2 separate regions of the Homo sapiens genome follow, and region 2 is linked to region 1. The links are contacts of gene promoters, found by promoter capture Hi-C in human tissues and cell types (Jung and others, 2019). All regions are on one chromosome and are shown on one strand. Each heading gives the region's core, a stretch centred on a gene start or on the middle of the fragment in contact. The rest is flanking DNA. Distances are from core to core; before and after follow the strand shown.

The links. Contacts are between HindIII fragments. The study calls those that stand out against the background at their distance.
Region 2: a fragment that was not itself captured here is called in contact with the fragment with the promoter of ROS1 in region 1 in 1 of the 25 tissues and cell types used here (spleen).

What each region holds. Positions count from the first base shown.
Region 1 is chr6:117,423,613-117,428,883 of GRCh38, forward strand. It overlaps ROS1 (ROS proto-oncogene 1, receptor tyrosine kinase), which reads right to left and starts at 2,330. Exons shown (of 44, transcript NM_001378902.1): 1 at 1,922-2,330. The coding sequence starts at 2,044. The HindIII fragment of the contact is 9,117 bases long and covers 882-5,271 here.
Region 2 is chr6:117,380,923-117,386,193 of GRCh38, forward strand. It overlaps ROS1 (ROS proto-oncogene 1, receptor tyrosine kinase), which reads right to left. Exons shown (of 44, transcript NM_001378902.1): 16 at 4,761-4,939; 17 at 2,395-2,586. Among named protein-coding and RNA genes, the nearest start is that of ROS1, 42 kb to the right of the region's middle. The HindIII fragment of the contact is 5,252 bases long and covers 333-5,271 here.

The DNA of each region.
Region 1 (5,271 bases), core at 1,080-3,579:
ATACCAATGCTCAAGCATAGAACTCTGCTTCGTGCAATTTGGCCCACAATTCTAACATTTTATTTTTGGACAAGACATTCTTGTGGTGACTTTTTTTTTTTAAGAAAACATTTCTCAATATCAAGAATCACCCAATAAAATTATAGATGACCTTCAGAGTAAATGTCCATGTTTTTAAAAATGATGCAGAAAATATAATAAACTTGAGCACTTTGTATATCCTCTCCTGTGAACCATGGTTACATTCAATTGTACATTCACTTCACTTTTGTCCCTCCAGGCCCTATGTGGGAACATGTAGTACTTTCACTGGTCAAATTGGCAGACCGTGTCTCTCTTGCTGTTGCCACACATCAGCTGTGCCATTCTCTGTAGGTGGTGAACGGAAGGCAACTCAACAAAGGAACAAACTGTCTATTCCTACTGCCAAACCCTGGAAGCAAGGAGCCCACACAAAAAGATAAGAATAAATAAAACGACAGTAAAATAAAATGGAGACTGCAATATTGGAAACAACTAAAATCAGTTTCAGTAGCAGGGAAATTAACAAATAAATTATGGTGGTACATTCATATAATGGAATACTCTAAAGATAATAAAGATTCTGTTTCTAAAAAAATCTCAGGGTCTAGGGGAAAACTCACAATACAATGTAATGAAAAAGCTGGTTGCATAGCTGGGTGTAAATTATAGATATATATGTATACATATATATATATGAGGAAAAATACTAAAAGAAAATTCAATCAAAAGATTACTAGGGCTAGAATTAGAAGTTTTTTATTCTTCTGTAGTTCTCTATGTTATAAATATTTTATTTAAAATGTATACTCTTATTATAATTAGAAAAAAGTTAAAATCTTTTTTAGAACATTTAGTTTTCCATTCAGTAGTTGAAACATTTAGTAGTTCCATTCTTCCATTTTTAAGTTTGGGTTACAAATATAAAAAACTAAAGCATGCAATTCTATATTAAAGGCAATGAAGTCTTCGGCAAAGATTTATATAAAATACTAAACTTTTAAAAAAATGCTACTAACCATGGTAAACCTAAGTAGTGTTTTAAACTACAGTTTAAATCAAAAGTGTATAAGTGCAAGTTTCTTTTTAATCTGCCACATAATTCTATCTCCAATACTTTAGAATAATATAATGAATACTATATTTAGTACTTGCATTATGTTTAAAAGTATGGCTATAGATAGGGTCATATGCAAACTATCATGATATTTTATTTGTCTTTAGACAGGAAGAGTGCATTTTCTCTGTCTATAGAGTACTTGGTTTTTAAAGTTAATTCAGTGACTGTTTTAAGCACAACTAAATTACAACTGAAAAGAGATGGTACAATAGTTAGAGAAGGGATGACACCCAGAAATGAGAATGAAAGCATGAATTTCCATATAAAAAACTCACTAACTAAAATAATAAATGCACAAACAGAAATAAAGAAATGTACAAATAATTATTGCTTTAAAATATTATTTTACATGGCAACTGTATCTGCTTCCTTTTTCATCCAGCTCCCTACACAGCTGGAATTAGCAGGCATTATCCTGTGGCCAAACCGATTTCAGGTTTCAAGACAACTACTAATGACTTTGTAATAAATAAGTTTAAATAGAAAGTTTTTAAGTGTGCAAAATTGGCAAAATTGATTCCATTTAAACCTCCTTTACCCAGTCCTCTAGCCCAAAAAATATATGACCACATACCCTAAAGAAATAAAATAGCCTGCTTTATCTTCTGCAATTATAAGGGCTCCTAACTTATTTAAGAAAAAATAATCTATCTTGCCTTGTTGCCACCACTTCTCATAAGAAAACTCCTCATAAAGAGAAAACAATTCTATCAGTTATAACAAGCTGAATGCTACATGTTCTAGTTCCTGCAAAGACAAATATTAGATTGTGAGACTTACCAGATTAGTTACACACGACTTTAGGCAGCTATTTAAAACTGTACACTGCACCACAGAAATCCATAGGCAGCCAAGAGTTGCAAAATTGACAAGCTTCGGAATAAGACAGTAAATGTTCTTCATCACTTCACCAATGGCAGATTTTTAGATGGCCGGTCTAATTTTCTCCATTTTGCTATATGAATTATTTGGGCTTCATCACTTCAATTGGAGGAGTAGCTGATGGATTTTGCTTTGTTTGTTTTGCTATATTAGGATATACTTGCCTTTTGAAATAATACTTAGCCTTTTTCATTTAGACCTTTGAATGCTTGAAAGCTTGTAACAGTTCCATAAGAGCTATTTCATAACAGCTTCCTTTTACTCCCATAAAGTCACCCAGTGACTAAAGGTTAGTTCTTAGAAGTGCACTTCACATGGAAATTAAAGAAAACGAATTGTATTTCAGCAAGGGTGTGACACATGCAGTCTGAAACTGGAACATTTCAGTGGGTCGTCCACCACCTTACTTCTCTGAGCTCTTTTCAGCTCTGCAGGGAATTGGGTTTTGACCACGTATGCTTTAGCAAACAGTAGCACTATTATAATAAAGAATTATTGGAAAAATAGAGGCACCCAAATCAAGCAATGCAACTGAGAGAGAAAACAGAACTCAGAAGCCAAATACATATTTTTAAATTTAAGAGCAAACAAAGCTGAAATTAATAGACAAATACCCTGGGAGAGAGTTAAAAACAAGGAAGTTGGTTAGAGTACTCTCAGAACTTTACTACATATTAACTAAAATACTGACTTATCAGGTCTATCGAGACAGCTGAAACTAGTTACCAGAAACCTAAGATATGTTCAAGTGTCTGCTTTGAGAAGGAAACATTGTACAAGCTTCCTTCCTGCCTGCCTTCCTTCCTCTCTCTCTCTCTCTCTCTTTCTTTGAGACTGAATTTCTGTCTGTCGCCCAGGCTACAGTGCAGTGGCATGATCCCAGCTCACTGCAACCTCCGCCTCCCAGGTTCAAGCGATTCTCCTGCCTCAGCCTCCCGAGTAGCTGAGACTACAGACGCCCGCCACCATGCCCAGCTAATTTTTGTATTTTTAGTAGAGATGGGGTTTCACCATGTTGCCCAGAGTGGTCTCGATCTCTTGACCTCGTGATCCGCCCACCTCGGCCTCCAAAAGTGCTAGGATTACAGGCGTGAGCCACCGCGGTACAACAGGCCAACCTCCTTGTTTTCTTAAATAAATTATACTAAATGTAACTTAACCTTTTCTTAATGATATAAGGTTCTCCCTATGAGTAACACATGCATGAGGTTTTGTTTTGAGCTGAACGTCTTTTGATTGGATTTTTGTTTGTTTGTTTTTTAATTTTTGTGGGTACATAGTAGGTGTATGTATTTATGGGGTACAGGAGATGTTTTGAAACAGACATGCCATGTGAAATGAGCACATCATGAAGAATGGGGTGTCCATCCCCTCAAGCATTTATCCACTGAGTTGCAAACAATCCAAGTATGTTCTAAGTCATTTTAATATGTACAGTTATTATTGACTGTAGTCACCCTGTTGTGCTATCAAATAGTAGGTCTTATTTATTCTTTCTACATTTTTTGTACCCATTAACTGTCCCCATCTCCCATCCCCCACCCCACCCACCACCACCCTTCCCAGCCTCTGGCAACCATCCTTATACTCTCTTTGTCCATGAATTCAATTGTTTTGATTTCTAGATCCCATAAATAAGTGAAAACATGCAATGCTTGCCTTTCTGTGCCTAGCTCAATTCACTTAACGTAATAATCTCCAGTTCCATCCATGTTGTTGGACGTGACTGAATATGGCTGAATAGTTCTCCATTGTGTATATGTACCACATTTTCTTTACCCATTCATCTGTTGATGCATACTTAGGTTGCTTCCAAATCTTAGCTATTGTAAACAGTGCTGCAATAAACATTCACATGCAGATATTTCTTTGATATACTGATTTTCTTTCTTTTAGGCATATACCCAGCAGTAGAATTCTAGATCATATGGTAGCTCAATTTTTAGTTTTTTGAGGAACTTCCAAACTGTTCTCCATAGTGGTTGTATTGATTTACATTCTCATCAAAAATATACAAGGGTTTCCTTTTCTCCACATTGCCACCAGCATTTGTTATAGCCTGTCTTTTGGACATAAGCCATTTTAACTGGGTAAGATGATATCCCATTGTAGTTTTGATTTGCATTTTTCTGATGATTAATGATGTTAAACACCTTTTCATATGCCTGTTTGTCATTCGTATGTCTTTTGAGAAATGTCTATTCAAATCTTTTGCCCATCCTTTGATTGGATTATTTGATTTTTTTTCTATAGAGTTGTTTGAGCTTTTTATTTATTCTGGTTATTAATCCCTTGTCTGATGGGTAGTTTGCAAATATTTTCTCCCATTCTGTGGGTTTTCTCTTAACTTTGTTAATTGTATCCTTTGCTGTAAAGAAGATTTTTAACTTGATGTGATCTCGTTTGTCCATTTTTGCTTTGGTTGCCTGTGCTTGTTGGGTATTGCTCAAGAAATTTTTACCCCAACCAATGTCCTGGAGATTTCCCCAATGTTTTTTGTAGTAGTTTCATGGTTTGAGGTCTTAGATTTAAGTCTTTAGTCCATTTTGATTTGAATTTTGTATATGGAGAGAGATAGGGGTCTAGTTTTATTCCTTTATATATGTATATCCAGTTTTCCCCACACCATTTATTGAAGAGACTGTCTTTTCCCCAGTGTATGTTCTTGGCATCTTTGTCAAAAATGAGTTTACTGTAGGTGTGTGGATTTCTTTCTGGATTCCCTAGTCTGTTTCACTGATCTGTGTGTCTATTTTTATGCCAGTAGCATGCTGTTTTGGTTACTATAGCTCTGTAGTATAATTTGAAGTCAGGTAATGTAATTCCTCCAGTTTTGTTCTTTTGCTTAGGATAGCTTTGGCTATTCTTGGTCTCTTGTGGTTCAATATAAATCTTAGGATTGTTTTTTTCTATTTCTGTGAAGAATGTCATTGGTATTTTTATAGGGATTGCATTGAATCTGTAGATTGCTTTGGGGAGTATGGACATTTTAACAATATTGACTTTTCCAATTAATGAACATGGAATGTTTTTCCATTTTTTGTGTGTCCTAATCAATGTCTTTAATCAGTGTTTTATAGTTTTCATTACAGAGATCTTTCACTTCTTTGGTTAATTCCTAGATACTTAATTTTATTTGTAGCTATTGTAAATGGAATTACTTTCTTGATTTCTTTTTCAGATTGTTCACTCTTGACATACAGAAATGCTACTACTGAATTACTAAATTTGTTTATCAGTTCTGCTAG
Region 2 (5,271 bases), core at 1,709-4,208, 42 kb before region 1:
TCTATAAATAATTGCCTGACTGTATTTCATTATGTCGGCTGATTGCAAAATATATTATTACTGCATAATAAATCTGTACATGACATCAATGAACAAGAGAGAGATGAAGAGCTTTGCTGGATGCAAAATGCATTGCCTTCAAAACATCCACTGTCACTAAGGGAGTCAGATAGATTAGACATCAAACCATGGAACCAGAACACAGATTTGCAAAAGCAACAACAGCACTTGACAACCTGGGAGAGGATTTGCAGAGGACTGTTTTTTTTTTTTTTTGGTTAATTTCCATTCTTTTGCTTTTATTATATATATATTTTTAACTTCAATAGCTTTTTGGGGTACAGGTAGTTTTTGGTCACATGGATGAATTGTACAGCTGTAAAGGCTGAGATTTCAGTGCACCAGTCACCTGAGTAGTGTAAAAATGTACCCAATATGTAGGGTTTTTTTTATCCCCCACCCAACTTCCACCCTCCCTCCTTCTGAGTCTCCAAAGTCTATTATATTACTCTGTATGCTTTTGCATACCCATGGCTTAGCTCCCACTTATAAGTGAGAACATATAGTATTTGGTTTGCCATTCCTGAGTTACTTTACTTAGAATAATGGCCTCCAGCTCCATCCAAATTGCTGCAAAAGACATTATTTCCTCCTTTTTTTTATGGCTGAGTGGTATTCTATGGTGTATTTATACCACATTTTCTTTATCCATCCACTAATCAGTTGATGGGCACTTAGGTTGGTTCCCTATCTTTGCAATTGCAAATTGTGCTGCCATAAACATATGTGTGCAGGTGTCTTTTTGATATAATAACTTCTTTTCCTTTGGGGAGATACCCAGTAGTGGGATTGCTGGATCGAATGATAGAAATACTATTAGTTCTTTAAGAAATCTCTGCACTGTTTTCCATAGAGGTTGTACTAATTTACATCCCCATCTGCAGTGTATAAGCGTTTGGAGGGGGGATTTAAAGAGGGGTAAGAAGGATGAATTTCCCCCAAACATGCTGAGATGACTCACTCATTTATGGGGAAGTCCCCAAGGTCACACCAGAGCTTTATCCTGGCTAGTGAGAGTACTCAAACAACCATATCAGAACACTGGGAAGATTACTGACAAAGTCCCTGAGGTGGAGAAGAAGTTACTCTTGAGATAATATTATCAATATGTTTTTACAAAAATGAAAATGCTTTTCCCTAACAATTATATTTTTTGAAAAACAAAAAAAAATGCTTTCTTTGTATTCAGACTCAAGTGACTCCAAAATAGAATTAAGAGACCTTTTTATTATTTGACAAGAATGATTGTCTTTGGATATGGTACATAAATTTCCATCTCTTTTAAATGTCTGTGTTATAATCCATGTAATGCAAATCAGGTCTCTTTAAATATCCTAGGAATTATGGCCCATATATGTTATTGGAATTGGAGATCAAGTGACTCAACTATTAGTTCATATATATACATACATTTTTAAAATCATCTGGTATTCTGTATTATGTATATTTTATCTCTGCAGAAAAAAATGACTTAAAATAAGAAAATCTTAAGGGATATATTAGGTAGAAATGGTGTGAATAATTTATTTATTCTTAATGCATTTCTGCAATTTTCAAGTTTTTCACAGTTGAAATATGTCACTATTATGGTCAGAAAAAATTAAAATTTAGAAACTTAGATGGATACCTAGTGGGTAGCTAAACAGAATCAACAAAAATAGTTATTGCTTGTAAAAGCTGAGGAAGTAAAAGTAACATTTGCTTTAGAAACATTCCTGTATTTGCAGGTTGAGTAATAATAATATGAGCTTAACTACGGAGCATTTACTTTGTACCTGGAACTATTCCCACTCCTCATGAATACTCTCATATAATCTTTATAAAAAAAAACTTAGGAGGTAGAATAATAGTTAACAGTCCCATTTTTCAGATAAGGAAAGAAACACGGAGAAGTGAAATCATTTGCCTAGTTTTTAGAAACAGTTTTTAAAACAGTCAGTGCCCAAAACTGATTGAAAATAGTAAAATGCCTAGTCACCACCTGATTCAAAGCTTCTAAAATATTCAACAGAAGTCCTTAAGACTATAAAAACAGTTATAAATTAAAATACTTTTAAGTTGGGTTCACTCAAAATAAAGTAAACAAAAAAAATCTCCATAGTGCATTTGAACTTACATAATCACTTATCACCATCAAATAAGGCTTTCAATTGTGACCATCAAATAAGGCGCTTTTTTTTCAAATAACAGAAAACTTGGTTAAACCAAGATCTTACCAAAACACTATTTCCTTTAGGAGTCTGCTTTAAGTACTCACAATAAGCGAGAGAAAGTATTATCATAAATATAGAGCTATTCAGTATTACTAAATGATCAGATCTTTTAATTTGTCACCTTTTTCCCAGAAAACCAAGGCTGTGTCTGTAGTACAAGGGAACTTTCCCCATTTAGTCTGGTGCTTTCCACTGAATAGAGTGTGGTCCAGTAGAGATATCCACCAACTGAATCCACCACCATGTCATTCACCAATAGCTTCACGTGGGTAACAATGTCTGTGTGTCCCGTCAACACAGACTGCCTTTGTATCTAAAAAACATAATTGTATGGCCAGTTAATGGCTTTCAAGTGACATTATTATTTCTGAATATTTATTGCAATCATTAATAAATTGCTTGATTAATCATTCATTCATTCAACCACAAATAGTGATTGGCACTATGTGCTGGGTAGTGTAATAAGCCTTGGAAACACAGCAACAAGCAAACAGGCATGGCACCTGCCCTCATGGGGCTTATCTGTTTTCATGCCTCCAAAGAGAAGGGAACTAAATTTACTTTGCATAAAAATAACTGCTTTTCCTAATTATACATCCAGACAATGTGAACACTGCTGGATAGGAATATATTTGATTAGACTCCCGAAAAAAGATGTTTATGTCCCTATAAATGATGACATCTCTCCTTGCTCTTCTCTATCAGTGTAGTTCCCTAATATTTCATGATTATCAATAATGTGCCAGGCACTGTACTTTTTTATCTTTAAAAATATAAACTCCTGTAATCCTCACATTAAGCTTATGAAGGATTTCTATTCCCTATTTTTTCACAGGTAAAGTGGATTAAAGTTAAACAATTTGTCCTGGAGTTAAACACTTTAATAAGAGATAGAGAAAATACTTAAAACTGGTTTTTATGTCCACTCTTCCATTTCCTTTTTCAAAACTATTTTTAAACTAACCTATTTGAGGGAGTGTTTTCTGACTAACCCCACTCAATTTCATTCTGCTTGCACATCTTTGGCACTTATGAATTCAGATTGTACCATATTGCTTTGTCTCTAAATACATTGCTTCATATGCTTCTTTATTTTATATATGTATTTTATCTCCTCAGAAGAGCAGGGACAACTGATGATGGCTGTACATCAATGGACACACTAAAAAATCTCTGAATTCTACACAATAAAAGAATGAATTTTGTGTTATGTGAATTATATCACAACAAAGTTGTTTTTAAAATAGCAGGGACATGTCGGCTATTTGTTTTATATTCCCTACTTTGCCTTCTTTCAAGGATTTCAACGCATTGGTAGTAGATAAATGATTGCTGGACAAATAAATAAATGGACAGCAAGTACTTTCCTGATTAAAAATTATTTCAATACCTTATTTCTTGATCTGTCAGGCCAATGTTCTTGTCATTAGCCATCATCTTTCTCTTCAAAATATATCACTCCACAGGTGTGCTGGATGTCTTTATTTTGCCTCTAGGTCTAATTCCCACCCTTCTCCACCCTACTCTGTGCCCCCATAGGCCAACATCTATGGACTTTATCTGCTAGGCTGAAGGGTTGTTGTCTGGCTTCTGGGGAGGTTCAGCCAATGGAAGCACTGGCAGATTAGAGGGCAGGAGGAAGGAGGGGTTGGGGTTCTTATTCCTTTAGCTGGCTCCTTGCCAGACCATACATCTTGATAGTGGCCAGCTTCTGTGCCTAAAGTCACAGTCCATATCAGCTACTCTCCTACAGCTACAGCCCTCACCAGGTTCTTCCACTTCTTCCCCTTGCCTATTCACACCTAGACTTATGTCTTCGCACACTTGTAAACCGTGAGGATGCCTCACCATCATTTGTTCATTTTCCCTAGCCCTGTGCACACCTTTGAAAATAGTCTCTTCACTTAGTTGCCTTGAATCATGCTTTTGGAGCATGCCATGTTCCTGCCAAGAACCAACGCTCAGGTGAGCATTTTCATGTATTTATTTAAATTATTATTGGGGAAAAAATACCTAATTCAACAAATAGTGATAACAAATTTAATTTACAAAAAAACATATTTTAAAAGTGAGATGAGGCCGGGAGCGGTGGCTCACGCCTGTAATCCCAGCACTTTGGGAGGCCGAGGCAGGCAGATCTCTTGAGGTCAGGAGTTCGAGACCAGCCTGGCCAACGTGGTGAAACCCCATCTCCACTGAAAATGCAAGAAGTAGCCAGGCATGGTGGCATATGCCTGTAATTCCAGCTACTCGGGAGGCAGAGGCCAAGATGGCGCCACTGCACTCCAGCCTGGGCAGCAGGGTGAAATTGTGTCTCAAAAAAAGAAAAAAAAAATGTTTAAGTGACTTGGTTTAAAGATAAACATTAAATAAATAATAGCATAAGTGGTGCACAGGTATTTAAAAAAAAAAAAGAAATTGGTGTGCAAGTCACTGAAGTGGATAAGTATCATTCTAGAGCATCCAGAATGCCATGCTTTAACTCACCACATATGTCTTTCCAGCCCAGTAGAGAAAGTGACCCAGCCACTCAAAAGCTAAAGCCCCTGCTCCTGCAATGCTGGGTAGGTGATAATTCTCTGAGATATCCGTCCCATTCAGCAGCCACACAAAAACGTCGCCTTTCGTGTCACTGTAGTAGAGGCTGTTGTTATACCAATCCATGTCTCAAAATAAAGTGAATGATTAGCAGTTATTTTTCATACATACCAACAAAAACATAATGAGTCAACAAATCACATCTGCACCTCAACATAATTTTAAACAACACACTGACACATATTCACTAGAACTTGATCTGTCAAGAATATTTAAATAATGTTTCCCAAACTCTTAACCCCTGAAACCAGGGAGAACAGTGGATACACATCGAGCATCTCCTCTTTGCCAAACATTGTCCCAGGCAGTTTACAGATCTCATTTAGTTCCTAAAACAAAATTATGAAGTAGGAATTATTCTCATTTTTGAGATGGTAAACCTGAGACAAGGTGAGATCAT